Linked DNA regions of Homo sapiens: region 2 is linked to region 1. The links are contacts of gene promoters, found by promoter capture Hi-C in blood cells and fetal thymus (Javierre and others, 2016). All regions are on one chromosome and are shown on one strand. The core of a region is centred on a gene start or on the middle of the fragment in contact, and the rest is flanking DNA. Distances in the headings are between cores, read along the strand shown.

What was found. The method cuts DNA at HindIII sites, captures the fragments that hold promoters and counts their contacts. A CHiCAGO score of 5 or more calls a contact.
Region 2: a contact is called between a fragment that was not itself captured here and the fragment with the promoter of KRT77 in region 1, in 1 of 17 cell types (non-activated CD4 T cells). The highest score is 5.8, in non-activated CD4 T cells.

Annotation. Positions count from the first base shown.
Region 1 is chr12:52,701,104-52,707,538 of GRCh38, forward strand. KRT77 (keratin 77) reads right to left here and starts at 2,421. Exons shown (of 9, transcript NM_175078.3): 1 at 1,789-2,421. The coding sequence starts at 2,331. RefSeq lists an enhancer at 494-663. The HindIII fragment of the contact is 9,521 bases long and covers 1-4,924 here.
Region 2 is chr12:52,857,921-52,864,355 of GRCh38, forward strand. No RefSeq gene overlaps it. Among named protein-coding and RNA genes, the nearest start is that of KRT78, 12 kb to the left of the region's middle. The HindIII fragment of the contact is 2,198 bases long and covers 2,208-4,405 here.

The sequences.
Region 1 (6,435 bases), core at 1,171-3,670:
TGTTCATGGCAGGGGCCATAATCAGATGAGCCTCAGGAGGTCAGTTGCCAGCGGCCTGTGGTCATTTCCCAGCCCTTTCTCCTCCCTGCTCCTCTCTTGGCCCAGCCGTGACCTCCGAGTAGTGACTCCTTGCTCCAGTGAAACCCTCTAACCCCTGCCTTTGCCTGAAGCGTGGTGATACTCAGCCAAATTTCCCACGCAGCATGATCGGAAGCCACGGGAGCACGCTGCTGTGTTGCGCTCCTCTTCGGCAGCCTCTGGGCCTCAGCACTCTCACCCTCCTCCGCCCGCTCACACACTGTCCCATCCCCAGCATCTGCTCAGATATCAGAGGCCTGCCCTGCCACCCAGTATGGCCTCTAGCCACAGCTACCCTGCAGTCAGGCCACAGGTCAAGCTCTGGCCTCAGCACTGAACTCCCGTGGGGACTGAGGGAAAGTCACTGAGTGTGCAAGCGGCCTTGGTGCTCTGTGGGGCTTCCCACTGCATCCCTGAAGGCAAAGTTCCTCCTGGGGAGGTGCTAGTGGCCGCTGTGCCTCGACCTCCAGACAAAAGGAGATGCTGGAGGGAGGTCTTCACCATGGCGAGTTCTCCAGCCTCTGCTGCTGCTTTGGACCTAATCTGAAGTTTCAACAGGGAACTAGGGACAGGGGCTTCTGTGTCTCCATCTGGCCCATCCTTGGCCCTTGATGAGCCAAAAGGGGAAACTCAGACAGAACCCTACATTGCATGCTATTGACTTTAGCCCCAAGAGATACCCACCACCAGGGCATTCACCATGCCCTGCCTGCTTCTCCTGCCCTGGCTCTGTGGCTTCATCTCCACTTCTCTCCTCCACCCCTTGGTATCCCATTTTCTCCAGGAATTGTAACTGTTTGAAATTCCCTAAACGCGTCACGCTTTCATGCCTCCTGGTCCTTCTGCCTGAAAATCCCCTCTGCCCTGAGAACCCATTTAACTCGTGCTCACTTCGGCAGCACATATACTAAAATTAGAACCCATTTAACTTTTCATCCGCCTTCCAGACTCAGCAAGCAGAGCTCATGACACCCTCCTTTGAGCTACCATGGCCCAGAGAGTACTACCCCTATTGACACACTTCACATACACTGTAGTAATTCTCTCCCCTTTAGACGTGGGCTCCTTGATGGCAGGACCTGTGTCCTAGTCACCTGTAGCACCTGGCACGATGTCTGGCCTATCATAGATTCTTAGAAAATATTTGTGGGCTAGATGGGTGGATGGATGCATGAGTGGATAGTTGAATGGATTGATGGATGAGTGAATGAACAGATGAACACGTGTGTGTGTGTGCATGTGTGTGTGTGTGTGTATAAATGGATTGTGTGGATGGGTGGGTGGATGGATGGATGGACGGAAGGGTGGATAGTTGGGTGGATTGATGAATAAGTGAATGGATGGATGTGTGTGTGTGTGTGTGTGTGTGTGTTTGTGTGTGTGTGTATAAATGGATTGTGTGGATGGGGATGGATAGATGGGTGCATGGGTGGATGGGTGGATGGAAAGTGAATAATTATGAATGAGAATGAGGGTACTACACCATGTATCTGTTGAGTATTTTAACACTGCTTATCTCCTTTCCTGCCAAAAGGAAAAGATGGAATTAAATCCCTGCAAGAAGACAAATTGAAGCCCAAATGGGTAAATGATTTTCTAAGGTCCCAGGTCAAGCTGAAACAGCACGATGTGGTGAGAGGTGGTAAGGTGTAATCTCTCTCAGTCATTTGGTCAGTGACCAATGACCCTCCCTGCCCCTGAGGTGCTCACCTTGTCAATGAAGGAGGCAAACTTGTTGTTGAGAACCATAATCTGCTCCCGCTCCTGGGTCTTGATCCTCTGAATTTCAGGGTCCACCTCCAGGTGAAGTGGCTCTAGGAGGCTCTGGTTAATGGTCACCTCTTGGATGCCCCCAGGAGGACAATAAGGACCAAAGCCCCCAAGCCCAAAATTGCTAGTCCCAAATCCAGCACCCCCAAAACCACCTCCTCCAAAGCCACCAGCCCCGGTGCTGCCAACCCCAAAGCCTCTGCCCCCTCCAAATCCCCCTACTCCCCCACCCTGGCAGAAACCACTGGTGCTCCTCCCCATTAGATTAATGGAGATGCTTCTACTGCCACCCAGATTGTAGAGGCTCCTAGAGCCAAACCCCCTTCCATGGATCCCATATCCACCACCACCACACCTCCCTCGAGCATAACACACAGAACCCACTGCCGGACTCCCACCACCAGAGCCTGCAGAAGAGCTGGTACTATAAACCCGCCTGCTCATTGAACTAAACGCGGACTGAGAACTAAATTGGTGGCTCATGTTTGCTGGAGCATCCAGAGAAGCAGGCAAGAGAAAGAGCCTGGCAGGAAGGAGGCAGAGACCAGAGAGGAAAGGAGCTCTGACTCCTTTGAAAAGATCTGGCTCCGGCTCTATATATATACACACACACACACATTACTGGGCTGGGCACCTTTACAATCCTGAAAGGGGAGTATTAATGTTTAGTTTGCCTGCCAGCAACATCTGTTTAAAACCTCACACCTGTGAGTTGCAGAAATCAGATTGCAGACAAACTTCCCCAACTCGATCATTTATCATTCATCTCTTGCCATTTAGAGATCAGAATGCAAGAATCTCTCAGGATCTCATTGCTGGAAACTTCTATACAGATTCTCCCCAAATCATCAGTTCATCTCTTCCTAAGAAACTCCACCATCGAGTTGTTTGTTTCTGGGATGTGCCTGGGAGATCTGGGGCAAAGTTAGATGGTGTTTAGAGACCTCAGGACCATAGCTGGGACAGAGGTGGAAACACTTTCTGTCACAGCATCGTCCTGGTGGGGCAAAAGTTTTGTTCCAATCTCCCCACACACTGCTTCTGCTCCCTGCAGTTATCATCACCATGAGCACCCAAAATTTTATCACATGGAAGTGCAATATTGTGGTCACTGAGTACAAGTGGAGGCCCACAGATTCTGCCCAAGGTCATTCACATTGTGTGCTGCTTGATAAGCCTCAGACTTCTCAAACACAAAACCACACAAGGTACTTCAGCACCAAAAGTCTGTGGTTATAGATTTGTTGAGCATCTACCAGTACCTAATATTGTCTTCTAGACCAGAAGACAAACCATCCCTAACTATCTCTCTTTCTGTTTTATCATTTCCGGTTCTTTATAGACAATACTTTTGTAAAATAGAATTAAAGGAATTACCTCCTAAAGATAATTTTTTAAAAAAGATATACAAAATGCAAGCCCAAATTTTTTTTATTTTTAGATTCAGCAAACAAAACATTGTTTAACTGCTAAAAATAGCAACAATAATAATAATTTTCTAAATGGTTACTCTCAAATTCTGTGCTTACCACAAGGCAATAGCAAAGCACGGTAGACCAGCACTAATCTGTGCTCACCCTCTGAGAAGCACGTCCCAGACAGCATCCTGGGGAAAAGCTCATTCAGTGAGCATCAGTGTCCGCCAACAAAAAAATGTGCGTTTTCCCTCTGGACTCAAATAGCTGTGGCTTTCATCCAAAATGTAATAATAATTTTTTTAACTTGGGGAAAAACTCTCCAGCCTTAGAAAAATGGCTAAGCGATGGCTTGCCCAATTGGATACAATTATTTTAAATCATCTTGTTGGAGACTCTGCAGCAGAACCGGCAACCACTTGTGATACTATGTACCATATTAAAGGGAAAGGGCAGACTACATGATGGAGTCTGCGCTGTGAACTCATAAGAATTAAGAATGCAGAAGGCCGGGTGCAATAGCTCACTCCTGTAATCCCAGCACTGTGGGAGGCCAAGGCAAGCAGATCACTTGAGCCCAGGAGTTCAAAACCAGCCTGGCCAATATGGCGAAACCCCATCTCTACTGAAAATACAAAAAATTAACCAGGTGTGGTAGCACACTCCTGTAGTCCCAGCTCCCACGGGTCAGGGGGGCTGAGGTAGGAGGATCACTTGAGCCTGGGAGGTCAAGGCTGCAGTGAGCCCTTATCGTGCCACTGCACTCCAGCCTGGGCAAGAGAATGAGACCCTCTCTCAAAAAAAAAAAAAAAAATGCAGATAAGACAGACTTTGTGAGTAACTAGAAAGTGAGTTGATTTATTTAGAGACTGTGGGAGGAGTTTTCCTAGGTTCTTTTGTTTGTTTGCTTATTTTTTTGAGACAGAGTCTTGCACTGTTGCCCTGGCTGGAGTGCAGTGGCACAATCTTGGCTCGCTGCAACCTCTGCCTCCTGGGTTCAAGCGATTCTCCTGTCTCAGCCTCCTGAGTAACTGGGATTGCAGGTGCCTACCACCACGCCTGGCTAATTTTTTGTATTTTTAATAAAGACAGGGTTTCACCATATTGGCCAGCCTGGTCTAGAACTCCTGACCTCAGGTGATCCACCTGCCTCAGCCTCCCAAAGTGCTGGGATTACAGGCGTGAGCTACTGTGCCCGGCTGAATTTTCCTGGTGTTTTAAATGTCCTTTTTCTTTATGTTCATTGCAATAAATATTTTTTGCTCACGCCTTTAATCCCAGCACTTTTGGAAGCCAAGGCAGGCGGATCACCTGAGGTTAGGAGTTCGAGACCAGCCTGACCAACATGGAGAATGCCATCTCTACTAAAAATACAAAAAATTAGCCGGGCATGGTGGCACATCTGTAATCCCAGCCACTTGGGAGGCTGAGGCAGTAGAATCACTTGAACCCAAGAGGCAGAGGTTGTGGTGAGCCGAGATTGCACCATTGCACTCTAGCCTGGGCAACAAGAGTGAAACTCCACCTCAAAAAAAAAAAGAAAGTTGTGGCAGAAATCCCAATAGAGGTGGGGAAGAACAGGTGGTAGAAACAAGAGCACTGTGGGGGCGCCGCAGTGAAAAGTCATCCTGGTACAGGGAAATGCTCCAAGGGCAATTCCAAGCTTCCACACCCTCTTCTCATGAACCTCTGCATTCCGTACATGGTATCTGTTCAGTGGGTCATCCAGGAGACACTGTGTGATAGAGGAGACAATGAGCCTGAAATTTATAGGCAGAAGCTCTGCTGCTTGCTGGTTGTGTCTAGAGCCTCAGACACTTAAGGAACCTAGAGCCTCTCAGACACTTAAGGAACCAAAGTGTCTATTTCTCAAGGATTCAAAGCTATATATAAGTCATGTGGGGAGAAAAAAGCAGAGCACTGGAATCACTAAACAAGCAGAAATAGCTGCTCACAGATCCTGGTGGGATGACAGCTGTCCTGCTTTGCCTAGGATTTTCAGTACTTAAACCAAGATATACCTGGGCAAATCAGAACAGTTGGTCACCCTAGTCCTAGGCACCTATGGTCCACACAGCCATACTCCTAACCCTAAGGTAAGAGAGGGAAGCCAGGGCCTAGCCTCCAGCACAGAGTGACAAGGAGAGAACCAGTAGAAGCAGAGGAAGGAAAGAGAGGTGAAGCTAGGGAAAGGGGTGGGTTCATGTGAGAAAGCTGCCTGAAGACCAGGATTCTGAGTCAGATATCAGAGGAGAGGCAGAAAGAACAGAGCAGGGGGAAGAAGTAGGGGTCTGGCTGAGAAAATGGGGGCTGATAGGAGAAGGGACAGTAAGTACCAGACAGGAAACAGCAGTGGTGTGGCGAACAGATCCTTGAGTTGGGCATCTTGAAACCCAGCTCTGACTCCTGGCTCCGCCCCCTCCTAGCCCCATGGCTGGGACACTTGACTCCTTGAACCTCAGTTTCCTGACCTCTAAAATAAAGAAAATAGTAACCAGGCGGGCACAGTGGCTCACACCTGTAATCCCAGCACTTTTGGAGGCAGAGGTGGGTGGCTCACCTGAGGTCAGGAGTTTTGAGACCAGCCTGGCCAACATAGTGAAACCTCGTCTCTACTAAAAACACAAAAATATATAATCCCAGCTACTTCGGAGGCTGAGGCAGGAGAATCGCTTGAACCTGGGAGGTAGGGGTTGCAGTGAGCCGAGATGGCGCCACTGTGCTCCAGCCTGGGCAACAGAGGGAGACTCTGTCTCAAAATATATATATATATAAAATAACAGCTTTGTAGAGTGATAGTAATGAATGGCTATGAACAAATATGGAAGAGCACTTTGCAAGCCCCAAGGAGTCACACAAGTGAGGTTCTGTTCCCCAACCCCTCCCTGTGAACCCACCTCTCTCTCCGGCTGCACCACTCACTTTCAACCCCACCTCCTCCTCATGAAGAATACACATAATTAACCCCTTCGCATCTGTCTCTACTGCCACCTAAACAAACAGGAAGCTCCTTGCTGTTGGGACAAGACTTCATGGACCAGGAGCCCCTTTCTTCCTGCAACTGCTGGGCAGAGTGGGCCAATAACAAAGGCCTTCATGACTGAGCTAAAGTAAAGAGACGTGGACAGCTTAGAGAACCAAGAGCTTGGGCCCCACAATTAAGTGCCCCTGG
Region 2 (6,435 bases), core at 2,057-4,556, 160 kb after region 1:
TAATCCCAACACTTTGGGAGGCCAAGGTGCGTGGATCACCTGAGGTCGGGAGTTCAAGACCAGTCTGACCAACATGGAGAAACCCCATCTCTACTAAAAATACAAAACTAGCCAGGCATGGTGGCGCATGCCTGTAATCCCAGCTCCTCGGGAGGCTGAGGCAAGAGAATTGCTTGAACCTGGGAGGCGGAGGTTGTGGCGAGCAGAGATCATGCCATTGCAATCCAGCCTGGGCAACAGAGTGAAACTCCATCTCAAAATAAAAAAAAGGCCTGGCGCGGTGGCTCATGCCTGTAATCCCAGCACTTTGGGAGGCCGAGGAGGGCAGATCACCTGAGGTCAGGAGTTCGAGACCAGCCTGACCAACATGGAGAAACCCCATCTCTACTAAAAACAAATACAAAATTAGCATGCCTGTAATCCCACCTACTAGCGAGGCTGAGGCAGGAGAATCGCTTGAACCCGGGAGGCAGAGTTTGCAGTGAGCCAAGATCACGCCATTGCACTCCAGCCTGGGCAACAAGAGCAAAACTCCATCTCAAAAAAAAAAAAAAAAATGTAAGTCGTTTTTCTTTGTGCCATCTGAGTCCATCTTGTGTTTCTTCAGTGGCTTACACAGTACCCTTGAGTACTCTCTACTAAAAACCCTTGAGGAAGGGCTCTAAGTTCCTCCAAAGCCAGGAAGGGCAAAGATGAATGTGGCTATTCCCTGACTTCTAGCACCAATCTTGGCCTGTCAGGCAAGAGAGAAAGGAGGGAGCAGATTACAGAGTGCACCCCTTCTCTACCCCATACCCAGGCAGAGCACACTCTTGCATTCTCTGCCCCGGTACCCTCCTGCCTGCTGGGCTGCAGCAGGTAGCCCCCGCTCCCCTCACTGAACTGGCAGTGAAGGAAAGTGGCACCCACCCAGGCAATGGGTTCACTGCAACAGGGAAAGGGTGCCCCACAGGTAAGCCAAGCTGCTGCCTCTGCAGCTCCCCCATGCCCAGGTAGAGAGGCCCCGAAACCTACAAGGAGGGCATTCCTAAGGCAGAAACCCTGGAGAGAAAGGATTAGCAAAACATTGCCTGGGAGTCCAGAACTGAAGTATATGTCTCCAAGTTCCAAGTTGAGGGTGGGAGTGAGGGATGATGCCAAACTTTGGAATAATAATGGCCCTTTTACCCATGGTGGCTAACATGATCATGTTCTACAACACACTTTAAAAAATACTATTGGGGGCCGGGCGCAGTGGTTCACGTCTGTTATCCCAGCACTTTGGGAGGCCAAAGAGGGCAGATCACTTGAGACCAGGAGTTCAAGACCAGCATGGCAAACATGGTGAAACCCCATCTCTACTAAAAACACAAAATTAGCTGGGTGTGATGGCGCATACCTCTAATCCCAGCTATTCAGGAGGCTGAGGCAGGAGAATCACTCGAACCCCAGAGGTGGAGGTTGCAGTGAGCAGAGATCACGCCACTGCACTCCAGCCTGGGCAACAGAGTGAGACTCCATCTCAAATAAATAAATAAATAAAAATACTATTGAGAACTCTCTGAGTGCCAATCACTGTGCTGGGCCTGTGCAGATCCTTCATCTTCTTTTATCTTCACCACAATCTGAGATGTGGGTATTATTTTTCCTTGCTCTACAGACACAGAAATAAAGCAATTGTCCAAGATCTCAAAGATGGAAAGAGGCCAAGTTAGGATGAAAACCCAGATCTTCTAAACATACACCGCCCCAATAGTCTTCCCAGGAACACTGTACAGCCTTCATGTAGTATGTATATGTACATGTTTCCTGTATAACAAAGAGACCAGAAGCTTCCCTGGTGCTGGGGGCTATGGGGAGAGCCCAAGGGAGAGGACACCCGCTCCCACTCTGCTGCAACACACAGCACTCTGCTCAGGGATGGGGCAGTGGCGTGTTATTGTTACACAAGGGGCTCTCTGTCAGGGAGGGAAGATAAGTCTGTTCTGTAGTGTTTGCCATTTTCCGTGGTGCAAATATTCCATGGCTGATTTCAAGCTGCCACCATGATGTCACTGAATGCAGAGCTGGGAAGAGATGCACACAATCAGGTCTCCTGAGTTTGCTCAAGCAGGCCCAGCACACCATGGGCCAGGGGTGAAGAAAGGGAGACTGTCCCAGGCTGGGAGTCAGGAACACACATCCAGGAACAAACTGCTGGTGCCTGAGAGAGGAAGGGGATTGGACAAAGCTTCCAACTCTGGGGGACCCTGAGAGGGGAAGAGGGAAGTGTTCAGACAAGAACTTGAGTTGAGAGTCCAGACACACCCATCCAGGGCTTAGTACCCAGCCACTGCAACCCTGACCCAATCAGGTTCAGCCAGTTGGGTGCCCTGCTGCTAGCAACAGCTCCTGATTTGGCAAATATTATGAGGCCTGTTACTAAGGACAGCCTCCCAATACCCCAGAGGGTGAAGAGCAACTTCCAGGGGAAAGTTGCCAAGATTCTTACACCCTGAGGATGTTCAGTCGAAGCTGCAGCAGGAACTCCCGGACTGGGAGACAGGGTGGGGGATTACATGGACCAGCTCCCTCCCACTCAACCATCTCGCCAGCATCTCTCCCATGGCCATCTGAGTGCTGTGCCCTGGGTGTTGGAAGTAAGGTTCTGCCCGTCTTCAAGGAACTTCCATCTGAGAGGAGATCTGTATTTTCAAAACTGCAAGCTACAACCCACTAGTGGATTGTGAAATCAATTGCATGAGTCTTTACCAGCACATGAGTGTGCATCACAGGTAGTAAGGGTAATATTGCACCATGAAATTTTGTTTGGGGTGTGTGTGTGTGTGCGCGCATGCAGAACTGTAATATAAAATGAATTTATTATTAGAGATCACTGTTCAAAAAAAGTTTCAGAAATTCCCTGACAGAGGAAGTGGTACCCACACCCAAACACACACAAACCCAAGAAAATAAGACCAGAAACAGGAGCAGCGTTAGGTGTCAGGACTTGGGGATAGAACATAGAGGTTTAGTCTGGGAAACTTTTCCAAAGGAGAGAAGTAATGAAAAGCAGAGTTAGAAAAGGGAAACAAGAAACTGAGGCATCTCTCCCAATCTATCCTGGAAGGGAGAGGAAATTCTCTTAATATCTAATCTAATCCCTAAACCCGCTGATGTGCTCTTCCCTGAAGCCCACCTACTCCTCAAAAGGAAAACCCACAGGTCCCTCCTCCAGGTAACCACCTTTTCTGGGTCATGACAGTGACACAGCTGGTCGGGGCTAGGGAGGGTGGAGTGAGCTGGGCTCGGGGGCACAAACAGCGGCATGCTGGGCACAGCCAGGCAGGAGGGCCCAGCGCTGCAGGTGCTGGGGCAACACAGAACAATACCAGATTCATGCCTGCCCTTGGGAAACGTAGACTCTAGTTAAGAAGACCAAAGTAGGCTGGGCATGGTGGCTCACGCCTGTAATACCAGCACTTTGGGAGGCCAAGGTGAACCGATCACGAGGTCAGGAGTTCGAGACCAGCCTGACCAACATGGCGAAAGCCCATCTCTACTAAAAATACAAAAATTAGCCAGGTGTGGTGGCACATGCCTGTAGTCCCAGCTACTTGGGAGGCTGAGGCAGGAGAATTGCTTGAACTCGGGAGGCGGAGGTTGCGTGAGCCAAGATTGCGCCATTGCACTCCAGCCTGGGTGACAGAGCAAGACTCTGTCTCAAAAAAAAAAAAAAGACCAAAGTAACACACACCTAGAGCAAGCCAACAGCAAAAGCATCCCACAGGGGCGTAACACTTGCCAGTGCAGAATGGCAGAGCAGTGAGATCTTGCAGATCATCTCGTCCAACACGCTGTCTCACTGCACAAGAAACTGAAGCCCAGAGAGGAAAAGCAACAGGCCAAGGACACATAAAAAGGATGGGACTAGAGCCCACTAGGCCAGGACTCATTTCATCTTGCAATATGGACAGCCTGGAACAAACCCTGAGACTAGGATGGAGACACAGGGAGGGGGACCTCAACACCCCACTTCAGACAAGCTCATTCATACTATTATCCACCCATCGACATTGACTGGGCACTTCTCAGTGCCAAGCACTGTGCCGGGTGCTTCAGATGGCAACGAATAATCCCGTCTAGGGGAGAGTGGAGTGCACCTGTTGCCCTCCAGGAAAGAACACGGGCTCTGTGACCTCCCTGACCTGCTGCAGCCTCCTTTACCATCAGGAAGCTCTCAGGTCTAACCTCACTCCTTTCTGCTGCAACATCAGCCCAGTTTCCCTTGGCCCCAGAGGCACTGCTTGCTGGCCTGACCTGACAGGTGGGGAGGGTGCTTGTATGGCCCAGGGCCCTCTCCCAGCTCCTGAGTCAGCCTGATCCATTGTTCCAATGACTCTGCCTGCTAAGGTGGCTTGAAAGCCCAGCGAGCCCTGCCAGCTGAAGCTTGTGGGTGAAGAAGGGGCAGAGAGAGGGAGAACTGAGGAAGGCTGATGTTGGGTGGGGAAGCAGAGGGGGTAGAACAGGCAGGTCTCACCCACTGCCTGGCTTCTTAAAGTCAAAGTTTATAGGGTTTTTTTGTTGTTGTTTGGTTGGTTTTTTATTGTTTTGTTTTGTTTTGTTTTTCTGTTGTTTGTTTGTCTGTTTTGAGATGGAGTTTTCGCTCTTGTTGCCCAGGCTGGAGTATTGACACGATCTTGGCTCACCGCAACCTCTGTCTCCCGGGTTCAAGCAATTCTCCTGCCTCAGCCTCTGGAGTAGCTGGGATTACAGGCATGTGCCACCACGCCCGGCTAATTTTGTATTTTTAGTAGAGATGGGGTTTCTCCATGTTGGTCAGGCTGGTCTTCAACTCCCAACCTCAGGTGATCCGCCCACCTCAGCCTCCCAAACTGCTGGGATTACAGGCATGAGCCACCACTCCCGGCAGAAAGTTTGTAGTTTTAAAGATGTAGAGGGGGGCTTGGCACAGCGGTTCACACCTGTAATCCCAGCACTTTGGGAGGCCGAGGTGGGTGGATCACCTGAGATCATGAGTTCAAGACCAGCCTAACCAATATGGTGAAACCCCGTCTCTACTAAAAATACCAAAAAGTTAGCCAGGCGTGGTGGTGCAGGCCCCTATTCCCAGCTACTCAGGAGGCTGAGGCAGGAGAATTTCTTGAACCCAAGAGGCAGTTTGCAGTGAGCCGAAATCGCACCATTGCACTCCAGTCTGGGTAACAGAGTGAGACTCCAACTCAAAAAAAAAAAAAAAAAGATGTAGAGGGAGAAGATCCTAAGCCTTGTGGTGCTTCCTTCTCTTTATATAAATAATATTCAGAATTAAAAATGTTAAATCAACAGACAATAAAATAAAATCAGAAAAAAGAAAACTCTTCTAAAATACTGTCACCTAGAAGTAGCCACTATTTACATTTTAGTATTTAACCTTCCAGGTGTTTCTATATACAAATATCTTTCAATTTATTCAGTCAGCGCATATTTATTGGACACTTACTATGTGCCAGGCACTATTCTAACAACGGAGATATAGCAGTAAACAAAACAGATCATTGCTGAGTGCAGTGGCTCATGCCTGTAATCCCAGCACTTTGGGAGGGCAAGGCAGGAGGATGGCTTGAGTCCAAGAGTTTGAGGCCAGCCTAAGCAACATAGTGAGACTCTGTCTCTACAAAAAATCAAAAATTAGCTGGGCATGGTGGCACACACCTATAGTCCCAGTTACTTGGAAGACTGAGGTGGGAGGATCACTTGAGCCCGGGAGGTTAAGGCTGCATTGAGCTATGATTGCACCAATGCACTCCAGCCTGGACAGCAGAGTGAGACCCTGCCTCTAAAAAAAACATAAATAAGTAGAAGGGCCGGGCGCAGTGGCTCACGCCTGTAATCCCAGCACTTTGGGAGGCCGAGGTGGGCGGATCACGAGGTCAGGAGTCGAGACCATCCTGGCTAGCACAGTGAAACCCCGTCTCTACTAAAAATGCAGAAAATTAGCCAGATATGGTGGCACATGCCTGTAGTCCCAGCTACTCAGGAGGCTGAGGCAAGAGAATCGCTTGAACCCAGGAGGCAGAAGTTGCAGTGAGCCGAGATCACGCCATTGCACTCCGGCCTGGGCAACAGAGCGAGACTCCATCTCAAAAAAAAAAAAAAAAGTAGAAGGAATACATTCTAAGATAATGATAAAAAGTAGAGTAAATATACAAGCCAGTAACATAGTCCTTTACTACCATGATCAAGTAATAATATGTACTGTATGTAATTTCATGTGCTATATATTGATACAATTGGCAGCACAGTAGGTTTTTTACACCAGCATCTTCACAAACACGTGAGTAATGCCTTTTGATACATTATGATGGCTACGATGTCAATAGGCAAGAGGAATTTTTCAGTTCCATTATAATGTATGGAACCATTGTCATATATGCACCATACATACAACAGAGACCTTGTTATGCAATGTGTGAC